4 separate regions of the Homo sapiens genome follow, and regions 2, 3 and 4 are each linked to region 1. Evidence: promoter capture Hi-C in 16 types of primary human blood cells and fetal thymus (Javierre and others, 2016). All regions are on one chromosome and are shown on one strand. The core of a region is centred on a gene start or on the middle of the fragment in contact, and the rest is flanking DNA. Distances in the headings are between cores, read along the strand shown. Region 1 holds the start of LIF (LIF interleukin 6 family cytokine). Region 2 has its middle 3.9 kb from the start of SEC14L2. Region 3 overlaps HORMAD2 (HORMA domain containing 2). Region 4 holds the start of HORMAD2 (HORMA domain containing 2).

Region 1 (2,830 bases), core at 117-2,616:
CATGGAGGATGGGCGAGGGGGCGGTGGGGGCCCGGGCGAGGCTGCAAGAGCTCCCTGGCCTTGGAAAACCAACTCACACACCTTGATCTCAGGTCAGGGTCAGGCGGAAGGGCTGGGAAGGGGCCACAGGGGACTAAATCATCTCCTGGTACTGGGGGTCCCCTGGCAGCTTTAGGGACGGCATGGCCCCAGACGCGTGGCCATGCTGTCTGGCCGGCATTCCCGCATCTCATAGGGTGTATTTATTTTCACTTTTCTGTTGCATTTCTTGGAGGTGTCCCTGTGCTCATTTTGCCCGGCTCCCCACTGCTCCTTTCTGCCCTTCCTCATTCACAAATCGCCTGGCCTCAGAAGACGCCAGAACATGTGACACTGCCTTAGAGCCTCTAGAAGCACTTTTTGGGGACCTCCATCATTCTCTGAGGCTGGGCTCAAAGGGGCTTCCAAGGCAGGTCTGGAAGGGACCAGCCACTTCTCAGTTTCCCCAACCATCAATCAGCACCCGGAGGAGGAAACTGGGGTACGATTTCGCCAAGCCTCTCTCAGTCCTGCTTCAGAATGGAAATGCTGGACCGCCTTCCCAGAAGCACCTTCCCAGAGTGTCCCGACAGAACTGAGTCAGTCACCCCTACCCCCATGTCTTCCTAGCCCCTTCCCCAGCCTCACAGGTACAGTGGTCAGCAGGGCGAGTGCACTGGTGGTGTCTGGAGGCCTGACCCTCTGGGGCCCTGGGCAACGTGTTCCCCTCGGAGCCCCTTGGGGCCCAGTGGCAATGTGCAGATTGGAGGAGGCTACCTCTGGGGTGGCTTCCAGCGCCCATGTTCAGTTCCACTTTATGACCGTCTAAAGTCCACGCCGGCCCCGGCCCCTCCTCCTGGAGCCTCCTTCTCAGCCAAGCCCTAGCCCTCCTCCTCCCACTGCCCCCCTAAAGCCCCCCAACCAGGGGGCACAGGGGCCAGTCTCCATCTGCTAGTCCAGACTCGCTACCTCCCCAAACCCAGGTGAGTCAGGGCCGTCTGGGGCGCCCACTGCTGGGACCCCTGCTGACTCGGCCAGGGGCCCCCTCCTGGCGATGCCCATCTTCAGACAACTCCCGGGACAAGCCAGGCAGGAAAACCACAGGGCGTTTTGTCGAAGGCTTCATTATAATTTTATCAATCAAATTCTTAGAAGAGGGAAAAAGTCTGTTCTCCCCACCCTCCCCCCTCACTCGTCCCCCCCCTTCACTCTCACTTTCTTCCATTCATAATTTCCTATGATGCACCTCAAACAACTTCCTGGACTGGGGATCCCGGCTAAATATAGCTGTTTCTGTCTTACAACACAGGCTCCAGTATATAAATCAGGCAAATTCCCCATTTGAGCATGAACCTCTGAAAACTGCCGGCATCTGAGGTTTCCTCCAAGGCCCTCTGAAGTGCAGCCCATAATGAAGGTCTTGGCGGCAGGTAAATACACCCGCCCCGCGCCGGCTTCGCGTCCCCGCTGCGGGGCGCGGCGGCAACTTGGGGCGCTTGGCAGCGCGAGCCGGACGCCCACCCGCCGCAGACACACGAACACTTGGGGCGCCCGCGCAGCCACCGGAGGCGCTGGGTGGCGGCCCGGAGCGAGCGCGGGCACATGGTCCCAAGCACCGCACGCCCCGCGGCAGGTTGGCGGCGAGGGAGGGGGCGCCGAGCCTTCCTCCTCCTCCTCTTCTTCCCCCTCTCCTTCTCCTCCTCCTCCTCCTCGCTCCGGACACTCGCTGGCTGCTCTTCCCTCTGCGCTTTCTCCCAGATTCACTCTCCCTCTCTCTTTTTCTTTTCTTTCTTTCTTTCCGCTTTCTCCTTTCCAACCGCGGTCCCGGGCTGCTCCCAGGGAGGGGCGCGGGCGGCGAGCAGCTTGCAAACTCCGGCCTGGGACGGGAGCAGGTGCCGCCTCCATCTGCTGGTGTCTGGAAGCGTGTGGTCTGCGCTAGGTGAGATATAGGGGTGTGGCCCCCCTCCCGCAGCCACCCCGGGGCCTCAGCACTGCCTTGGGATGCTGGGACGAACAGGGGACCCAGGAGAAGTGAACTTGAGGAGGCCCCTGTCCCCGCTGTTCCAGCATGGGGGATCCGGGGGAGGTCTCCAGCCTCACTCGCCCGCTGACCCCGGCCCCCACCATCTTCAGGTGCCCTTCTGCAGAGCCCTGGAAAAGCGTCTAAGGGGGCCTGGGGGGAGTCGGGAGAACAGGCCCCCCTGGGGGAGGGGCAAACCAGGACATGTCGGGACAGCTCCCAGCTCTCCTGTCACCTTTCACTTTCCTTCCTCCCCGCCCACCCGACTGCCTATGACCTTTTGCCTTTTCTCTCTCCTGGTGCACCATTTCCTCTCCCTCCCTGAGCCGGTGTGTGTGTGTTAGGAGGGAGGGGAACCCCTGGGACAAGGGACAGCGGATGAGTCGGGAGAAGGCATGGAGTCAGGGGCTGTCCGGAGCTGGGGGAACAGAGAGTTTTGAATGATGATTTGGGGATGGAGAGTGGGGACAGCCAGGCAGAAATGGGGTGAGCTTGAGTGAGATAGGGGACACTAGGGAAGGAAGAGATAGAGGATGATGGGGGCGGGGGCAGAATTGGGGGCAATTGGCCCAGGGAGCCAGAATCAAGTGGCAGGTTTGGGAGGGAGATGAGGGTCAACCGAGGACTCCTCCCCACTCCCCCATGCCCCGTGGCCCCCATGGGTGCCTGGCTTCGGAGATTTGGGCTGCAATGGGCCAGTGAGTGGGAAGCGCTGCTGAGGAACCTGGGCCACCACGGGAGGTGGGAAGAGAGGGGTCTCCTTTCTCCTGGTGCCTGCTGGGCCTGGGGCCT
Region 2 (2,739 bases), core at 30-2,529, 150 kb before region 1:
CAGGAGTTTGAGACCAGCCTGGCCAACATGGTGAAACTAAAAATACAAAAATTAGCCGGGCATGGTGGCGGGCGCCTGTAAACCCAGCTACTTGGGAGGGTGAGGCAGGAGAATCGCTTGAACCCAGGAGGCAGAGGTTGCAGTGAGCCGAGATCACGTCACTGCAGTCCAGCCTGGGCAACAGGAGAGAAACTCGGTCTAAAAAAAAAAAAAAAAAAAAACAAGCAAACAAACAAAAACACATAAATAAATAATCTGGTGAAGTCCTGGAGCTGGCTAACAAGAGAGAGTCCCTCCTTCCCATCCCCACTTTTTCTCCATCCCCTAATCCCTGCCCTACAGTTCTTCCTCCCTGCTAGGTATGTTGCACCCCTGCTCAAGAATCTTCAATGGCTCCCCGGTTCCTTCCTGAGTTGACTCAATCCCACTGATCTGCATTTGAGGCCTACCCCCACCCCAGCCCAGCATTCCTTGTGGCACCAACGGCCACTTGCCCTCTCCACACACTTCATTTCAATCTGAGAAGCTTCCCACTGTCCCTTAGACACACCTCTGCCCTCCTGCCTCTGTGAGAGCTGCTGCTGTGTCCTGTATCCTCCTGCCAGGTCTTCCCCAGCCCTCAAGACTCTGATCAAATACTGTTTCCAGGAGCTTCTCCCTGAGCTACCCAATGCAACACGACCTCTGCCAACCAGAAGTCCCCTTTCCTGGCCTTGATGTGGACTATTTTGCATTGTAGTGGCAACTCTCAGGGAATAGCATGGCCCAACAGGAAGAACCAGGCCTCCTGGGTCAGGCAGGCTGGAGGGGAGAACCTTCTGTGATGGGTGTGTTGCTCTGGGTATATCTTGCTGGGGACTTTGCTTAGGGGAACATAGAGTGTGAACAACTTAAAGAAGGCTGGTGGCACGCAGAGATCTAGAAGCGTTGGGATGGCAGTCCTAGCGTTGACAGAGCCCTGTGCTTCAGATTCTTCTGGGGGGCAGCTCTGGGCACAGGAAGGAGCACTGGACCGGGAGTCTGGTGTGTGGGCTGGAGACCATGTTCTTGCTTAATGTGCTGCCGTGACTATTCCACAAGACGCATATTTGGGGGTCTCCTCAGGGCTGCTGGCCGTGCCCTCTAGACCTTGGTTGTTTCCTCACTAAAATGAGGGCACTGGCCTTGAGATCAGAGGCCTCCTGCGTGCCCTGGCCTCAGAATCTGTGGTGCCAGGGGGAAGGGGGTGGCACAGAGATTGGCATTGTGATTTGAGAGTTGGAAAGAACAGTCTTTTAAACTCTTCACAAATATTTGTGGAACACTCTACTTCCACGGGGCCAGGGCAGCGCGAACTCTCTGGAAAACCCTTGTGCCTGCGGGCAGCCATGCAGAAAAGCCCTGGCCCCAACCTCCTCCCCTCCTCCCAGCCCAGCCCTGTGGGGCTTGCAGCTGCCTCAAGTCACCTGCCTCCTCTGGGTGTCTGTGATCTGGGGAGAGAACTAATCCCGCCACTGTGAGAATTCCAAGTGAAATAATGGCTGGGGAAGTGGTGGGCGCACACAGGTGAGGGATTATTATTCTATCATGTTGCTTCTGAAGGCACAACAGAGAGTGAGAAACTAAGCCTGTCTGGCTCCTCCCCCGAGCCCCACTTCCTCCTCACTTCTGCAGTCCAGCCTGGCTTTGCAAAGAAACAAAATCCTCTCCCCACCCCACTTCCCACACTCGAACCCCTGATTAAGTCCCTTACCTTCCTGGGTATCACTGTCTAATCCCTAAGCCCTTTCTCACCAGTCTCCAGTTGTCTCCAAGAGCCAAATCCCTTTAGAATGAGGTGGCCCAGATAGCTGTGAGCACAGAGGCTGGGGGCAGGGAGCTGGGACCTCAGGAGTCCCCCAGAGGGGAGGGGAGGGCCGGAGGGGTGCTGGGGCCCCTGCTATGGCTCTGGCACTAGCTGGCAGGAGCCTGGGGACTTCGCTTGGGAAGGATGGGTTGCCATTTCCACCCCAAATAGAGCTAAAATAGAGTCCAGATTCGGTAGGCAAGCTTGTTCCCACACCAGTGACCTCTCAGAGCAGAATGGCATAGGAGTGGGCCCACCAACTCTGGAACCAGACTACCTAGGTTTGGGTCCGGGTTCTATAACCTAGCAAAGTTACTTGACCTCTGCCTCAATTTCTCATCTGTAAAATGGCAGTGATAATCTTACTACCTCATGTGATTGGAATGAGATTAAATGAGCGAATTCATGAAAAAAACGTTGAAGAGTACCTGGAACACTGTAAAGCTATTGGCTGTTTTTTTAAATTTTTTGTGGGTTTCTTTTTGTAGAGATGGGGGTCTCACTATGTTGCCCAGGCTGGTCTTGAACTCTTGGCCTCAACTGATCCTCCCACTGTGGCCTCCCAAACTGCTGGGATTGCAGGCATGACCCACTGTACCCAGCTGGTATCAGCTGTTTTCACTTGCATTCTCTGTTTCTTCTCTTGAATATTCTTGCCATTCAGGTGCCAGCCCACACACCACCTCTTAGAGAGGTCTCCCTTCCCTGGTAATGAGGTTGAAGTGGCCTCTGGCCCCCAGCCCCTCTCTGAGGCTATTTTATCTCATTCCTGTGGCACCTACCGTGGCCTGAAATGATCTTGCTTGTGTATGTGGTTATGGTTTTCTCTCTGTTCTCAAGGGCAGAAGCCATTGCTGGTCACGGTCACTGCTCCATGCCCAGTGCCTAGCACCGAGAAGTCCTTTGATATCCAT
Region 3 (2,848 bases), core at 204-2,703, 150 kb after region 1:
AGGATCACTTGAGGCTGGAAGGTCGAAGCTGTAATCCTGTAATGATCATGCCGCCACACTCCAGCCCGGACAATGAAATGAGACTCCCTCTCAAAATAAATAAATAGAGTTTTGGTTTAAAGTAGTCCAAGATCAATCACTGATTTATGTGTGATTTTGCATAAGCAACTTCACCTTTTCGTATTGTTTTCCTATACTAAAATTGATGTTACCTGTATCTCTATTGAGGGATATGAAAATTATCCCATGTTGATATAACATTCAGAAATTACAAGAGAGTGACACAGGAGTATTAAGCATTTTTATGATGTATATTACTTTAAGAACAAACATTGAAAGGGAGACATAAAACTTCCACAATAACTGTCACAAAAAATAAAGCTATAGGGAATGGTATCATTGCCGTTGCCTAGGGTAGTGACTGGCACACAATATGTGCTTATTATCAAAAATATGTCTTTCTCAATTCTATGTTCTAGACAAGAGGGAAAATTACAAATATATGTTAGATATAAACACATTCACTATTACAAGTTTGTATCTCATAGACCAAAAGATGTCATAATACAAATGAGGTTGTCATGATTGCAAATATCATGTTTATGTGCTTATAGCACACATGCATTTTATTGATGCTCTTACATTACTTAAGATAATTTTTTTTTTTGAGACAGAGTCTCACTGTATCACTCAAGCTGGAATTCAGTGGTGCAATCACAGCTCACTGTAGCCTTAACCCCCCAGGCTCAGATGATCCTCCCACCTCAGCCTCCAGAGTAGCTGGAATTACAGGCACTCACCACCATGGCCAGCTAATTTTTTGTATTTTTTATAGAGACAGGGTTTCACCGTGTTGTTCAGGCTGGTCTTGGATTCCTAGGCTCAAGCAGTCTGCCCACCTTGCCTTTCAAAGTGTTATGGTTACACTTTGGATTACAAGCCTGAGCCACCATGCCCAACCAAGAGAATTAGACTGAAATGAGGCCAAGGTATATCATTAAATACAGATGTAAGAAATTTAAAATTAGATTTTGAAAAATAACATCTTACAAGGCAACTTGTAGCTCTCTATGTTTATTTTCCAAATGACAGTTCCTATTTTAGTGACAAGTCAACAAGATTCACAATCCAGCTTTTTTTTTTTTTAATACTTTAAGTTCTGGAATACATGTGCAGAAAGTGCAGGTTTGTTCATGTGCCATGGTGGTTTGTTGCAACCATCAACCCATCATCTAGGTTTTAAGCCCCACATGCATTAGGTATTTGTCCTAATGCTATTCCTTCCCTTGCCCCCCACCCCCCTACAGGCTCCAGTGTGTGATGTTCCCCTTCCTGTTTCCATGTGTTCTCATTGTTCAACTCCCACTTATGAGTGAGAACATACATAACACAGGTTTTCTGTTCCTGTGTTAGTTTGCTGAGAATGATGGTTTCCAGCATCATCCATGTTCCTACAAAGGACATGAACTAATTATTTTTCATGGGTACATAGTTTTCTATGATGTATATGTGCCACATTTTCTTTATCCAGTCTATCATTGATGGGCATTTGGGTTGGTTCCAAGTCTTTGCTATTGTAAATAGTGCTGCAATAAACATATGTGTGCATGTGTCTTTATAATAGAATGATTTATAATACTTTGGATATATACCCAGTAATGGGATTACTTGGTCAAATGGTATTTCTGGTTCTATATCCTTGAGGAATTGCCACACTGTCTTCCACAATGGTTGAACTAATTTACACTCCCACCAACAGTGTAAAAGCATTCCTATTTCTCTACATTCTCTCCAGCATCTGTTGTTTCCTGACTTTTTAGTGATTTCCGTTCTAACTGGCATGAGATGGTATCTCATTGTGGTTTTGATTTGCATCTCTCTAACGACCAGTGATGATGAGCTTTTTTTCATATGTTTGTTGGCTGCATAAATGTCTTCTTTTGAGAAGTGTCTGTTCATATCCTTTGCCCACTTTTTGATGGGGTTGTTTTATTCTTGTAAATTTGTTTTAAGTTCCTTGTAGATTCTGGATATTAAACCTTTGTCAGATGGATAGATTGGAAACATTTTCTCCCATTCTGTATGTTTCCTGTTCACTCTGATGACAATTTCTTTTGCTGTGCAGAAGCTCTTTGGTTTAATTAGTTCCCATTTGTCTATTTTGGCTTTTGTTGCAATTGCTTTTGGTGCTTTAGTCATGAAGTCTTTGCCCATGCCTATGGCCTGAATGGTACTGCCTAGGTTTTCTTCTAGGGTTTTTATGGTTTTAGGTATTACATTTAAGTCTTTAATCCATCTTGAATTAATTTTTGTATAAGGTGTAAGGAAGGGGTCCAGTTTCGGTTTTCTGCGTATGGCTAGCCAGTTTTCCCAGCACCATTTATTAAATAGGGAATCCTTTACTCAATGCTTGTTTTTGTCAGGTTTGTCAAAGATCAGATGGTTGTAGATGTGTGGTGTTATTTCTGAGGCCTCTGTTCTGTTCCATTGGTCTATATATCTATTTTGGTAGCAGTACCATGCTGTTTTGGTTACTGTAGCCTTGTAGCATAATTTGAAGTCAGGTAGCATGATGCCTCCAGCTTTGTTCTTTTTGCTTAGGATTTTCTTGGCTATATGGGCTCCTTTTTGGTTCCATATGAAATTTAAAGTAGTTTCTTCTAATTCTGTGAAGAAAGTCAATGGTAGCTTGATGGGAATAACATTGAATCTATAATTTACTTTGGGCAGTATGGCCATTTTCATGATACACAATCCAGCTTTTTAAACAAATAAGATTTTTGAAAACTTGTTGAGTCCTAGGTACTTGGGTTTTTTGTTTTTGTTTTTGTTTTTGTTTGTTTTTCTG
Region 4 (2,954 bases), core at 291-2,790, 170 kb after region 1:
AGGGTGGGGGGAAGAACAGAGAATTAAAAGAAACTTAACCTAAATCTCACACTGTATACAAATATTAATGCAAAATGGATCATGGATTTAAACCTAAACATAAAACTATAAAGAAAAGGGGCCAGGTGCAGTGGCTCACACCTGTAATCCCAGCACTCTGGGAGGCCGAGGTGGGAGGATCACGAGGTCAAGAGATCGAGACTATCCTGGCCAACATGGTGAAACCCTGTCTCTACTAAAAATAAAAAAAAATAAAAAAATTTAGCTGGGCGTGGTGGTGCACACCTGTAGTCCCAGCTACATGGGAGGCTGAGGCAGGGGAATCGCTTGAACCCGAGAGGTGGAGGTTGCAGTGAGCTGAGATTGCGTCACTGCACTCCAGCCTGGCACAGAGCTCGACTCCATCTCACAAAAAAAAAAGAAAAAAGAAAAGGAAAGTGAGGCTAAGCAAGGGAACTTGGTTTGCCAAAGTTCGCCCAATTACTTAGACCTTCCAACAGAGCTTGCTTCAATAAATTATTCACCATTTTAACAAATTCCATTTGGCCCTGGTAATTCCCCTACCTGTGCTCATTCAGAGAAAATGGCTTCCACTATATTAATTGAGTATTTGTTCATGCTCTTTTGACTTTTTAATATCTTTTTCATGCTATTTCAATTATTCATTCATTCAACATCTACGAGGCAACTACAATGTGCCAGGCAACAACATGCAGGATTACGAGATGTAAAATACTGTTCCTACCTCAACAGATTGATGGTCCAATGGAGGAGAAATTAGATTATGATCCTGCTGAGATTAAAAACCCCTTTAGGGGCCAGAACCACCCCTCATTTCTACCAGCTGAGTACACGATGTACTGCACAGCCTGTCCAGTGCCCTGCGTACTCGGACACATTTTGGCGATTGGCTAATCCTGAGGTTCAAGACTCTCTCCCTCTGTTTAGGGAACTAAAGTCCATAGGGATTAATTGGCAAATCCTCACTAAAGTGAAAGGGGAGCTGAGGTCAAGGGGGGCGGGGTGTCTTGTCCCCACCTCTCTCACCTCTTGGCCTGTACCAGGCATCGATCCTGGCAGAAAACCTCAATGGCTGGGGAGAATCTGACCCAGGTAAGATAAACTTCCCCAAAGCTCCACCACACACGGCCCCCTCCAATGTCGGGCACAGACATCGTCTGCCCTGCCAGCCTCATCATGGCTCATTATGGCTGCTGCTTGCTCAGCAAGTTTGATTTCATGTCCAGAAAAATCTGAATTTCAAAACTACCTGGGTGCTCTCTGTCCAGTTCTGGGGGAAATCGCCTCCCTTTTGCCTTCCTCCTCAGCCCCCTGCCCTCCCGATTCTCTTCACAGTACTTTAGGCCCTCACGAAATATGATACTTTCAAATCCAACTTAAAGCCTTAAGTAATAAGAAAAGAAAAAAAAATTGTTTTTTGACATAAAGACAGAACTAACAACGCCCGAGTGCCCTCTCTGGGCCGAGACCTCGCGTCTCAACAGCCCTCACCTCAGCTCGTCGACGCTTCCCTCCCACCGGGGGTCAACGGCCTTTTCCGGCCCAAACCCGCTCCTCGGCTCATGAATAGTCAACGAGGCCTTTCTGGGCGGGACCAGAGGTTTCCTCATGAATAATTCATGACCCGTCCACGGCTAGCCTGGGCGACCGGCCTCGCTAGACTTCATGAATATGCAAAGCAGGGGCGAACGGCGGCTAGCCGGCCCCTAGCCCGCCCGGCCCCTCAGCAGCCGCCTCTCAGCCACGGGCTGCACACTGACCCGACGCGACCTTCGGTCAGGGGCCGCCAGCCTGGGCCACCTATACAACGACAGCCTGCTCCGGGGCTTCCTGAGGAGGTGCCTGCCCCGCCGAGGTTAGGACCCGAGGGACCGTGGGGCTCGGGCGGGCCAGGACGCCAGGCCGGCGGGTCCCAGAGAGGTCTGAGGCGGGCGCGGGGCGGCGTAGGGGAGGGAAGCGAGAGCCTGGGGGGCCCAGGGACCCGAGTTAGAAGAAGGCCCGAGAAGTGCGGCGCGGTGGCTCCACCTGGGATCCCAGCACTCTGGGAGGCTGAGGCGGGCGCGTCACTTGAGGTCAGGAATTCGAGACCAGCCTGGCCAACATGTTGAAAACCCGTCTCTACAAAAAATACAAAAATTAGCTGGGCGTGGTGGCGCGCGCCTGTAGTCCCAGCTACTTGGGAAGCTGAGGCACGAGAATCGCTTGAGCCCAGGAGGCTGAGGTTGCAGTGAGCCGAGATTCCGCCATTGCACTCCAGCCTGGGCGACAGAGCGAGACTCCGTCTCAAAAAAATTTTAAAAAGTACAAAAATTAGCTGGGCCACCTGACGTGCGCCTGTAGTCCCAGCTGCTCGGGAGGCTGAGGTAGGAGGATCGCTTGAGCCGGGGAGTTTGAGGTTGCAGTGAGCCAAGATCGTACCATTGCACTCCAGCCTGGGCAACAGAGGGAGACCCTGTCTCAAAAATAAAAAAAAAGAAAAGAAAGAAAAAAGACATAAGGCCAGAAGGCCAGAGCTTTCCAATACTTGAGGGCATCTGCAACCTCTTCATCCCTACCCTGGACCTGACTTTGCATTCTTTTTAACATTAATTTGTAATTATGCAAATAAAACATAAATATATTCTCCTTTGTGCCCTACCCCTAATCTCAGTTTTTTCTGCCCTGGTAACTGTGGGAGCAGTTGGGGGTGTGGCTCCTTGGATCGTTTCTCACCTGTTTAGGTAGATATTTCGTATCCTGTGGTGCTTTCCAAAGGCTCCTGGAGTCCCATGAACCTCCCCAAGGGGATTTCCCAAGAGAGTAGATGAAAGAGTGAGCCACTTGAAACCTGTTCTTATTTTGTTTCTGCAGGAAAGAAAAAAAAAACTATTCAAGTTGGCGAGAACATGAGTTTAGAACATAATGACTAAAACTGAAATTTGGGCTGAAATATT

The links. The method cuts DNA at HindIII sites, captures the fragments that hold promoters and counts their contacts. A CHiCAGO score of 5 or more calls a contact.
Region 2: a contact is called between a fragment that was not itself captured here and the fragment with the promoter of LIF in region 1, in 4 of 17 cell types (neutrophils, activated CD4 T cells, naive B cells and 1 more). The highest score is 7.3, in neutrophils.
Region 3: a fragment that was not itself captured here is called in contact with the fragment with the promoter of LIF in region 1 in 16 of 17 cell types (M2 macrophages, neutrophils, monocytes and 13 more); the score reaches 21.4 in M2 macrophages.
Region 4: the fragment with the promoter of HORMAD2 here is called in contact with the fragment with the promoter of LIF in region 1 in 9 of 17 cell types (neutrophils, erythroblasts, monocytes and 6 more); the score reaches 10.8 in neutrophils.

What each region holds. Positions count from the first base shown.
Region 1 is chr22:30,245,295-30,248,124 of GRCh38, reverse strand. LIF (LIF interleukin 6 family cytokine) reads left to right here and starts at 1,366. Exons shown (of 3, transcript NM_002309.5): 1 at 1,366-1,448. The coding sequence starts at 1,430. LIF-AS2 (LIF antisense RNA 2) reads right to left here and starts at 1,915. Exons shown (of 1, transcript NR_148946.1): 1 at 1,132-1,915. The HindIII fragment of the contact is 10,846 bases long and covers 1-2,830 here.
Region 2 is chr22:30,391,729-30,394,467 of GRCh38, reverse strand. No RefSeq gene overlaps it. Among named protein-coding and RNA genes, the nearest start is that of SEC14L2, 3.9 kb to the left of the region's middle. The HindIII fragment of the contact is 1,502 bases long and covers 529-2,030 here.
Region 3 is chr22:30,099,887-30,102,734 of GRCh38, reverse strand. All of the region lies in intron 3 of HORMAD2 (HORMA domain containing 2), which reads right to left. Among named protein-coding and RNA genes, the nearest start is that of HORMAD2, 21 kb to the right of the region's middle. The HindIII fragment of the contact is 7,543 bases long and covers 1-2,848 here.
Region 4 is chr22:30,079,050-30,082,003 of GRCh38, reverse strand. It overlaps HORMAD2 (HORMA domain containing 2), which reads right to left and starts at 1,540. Exons shown (of 11, transcript NM_152510.4): 1 at 1,513-1,540. It overlaps HORMAD2-AS1 (HORMAD2 and MTMR3 antisense RNA 1), which reads left to right and starts at 1,747. Exons shown (of 5, transcript NR_110541.2): 1 at 1,747-1,876. RefSeq lists enhancers at 1,470-1,549, 1,387-2,084 and a silencer at 1,890-1,939. The HindIII fragment of the contact is 6,725 bases long and covers 1-2,954 here.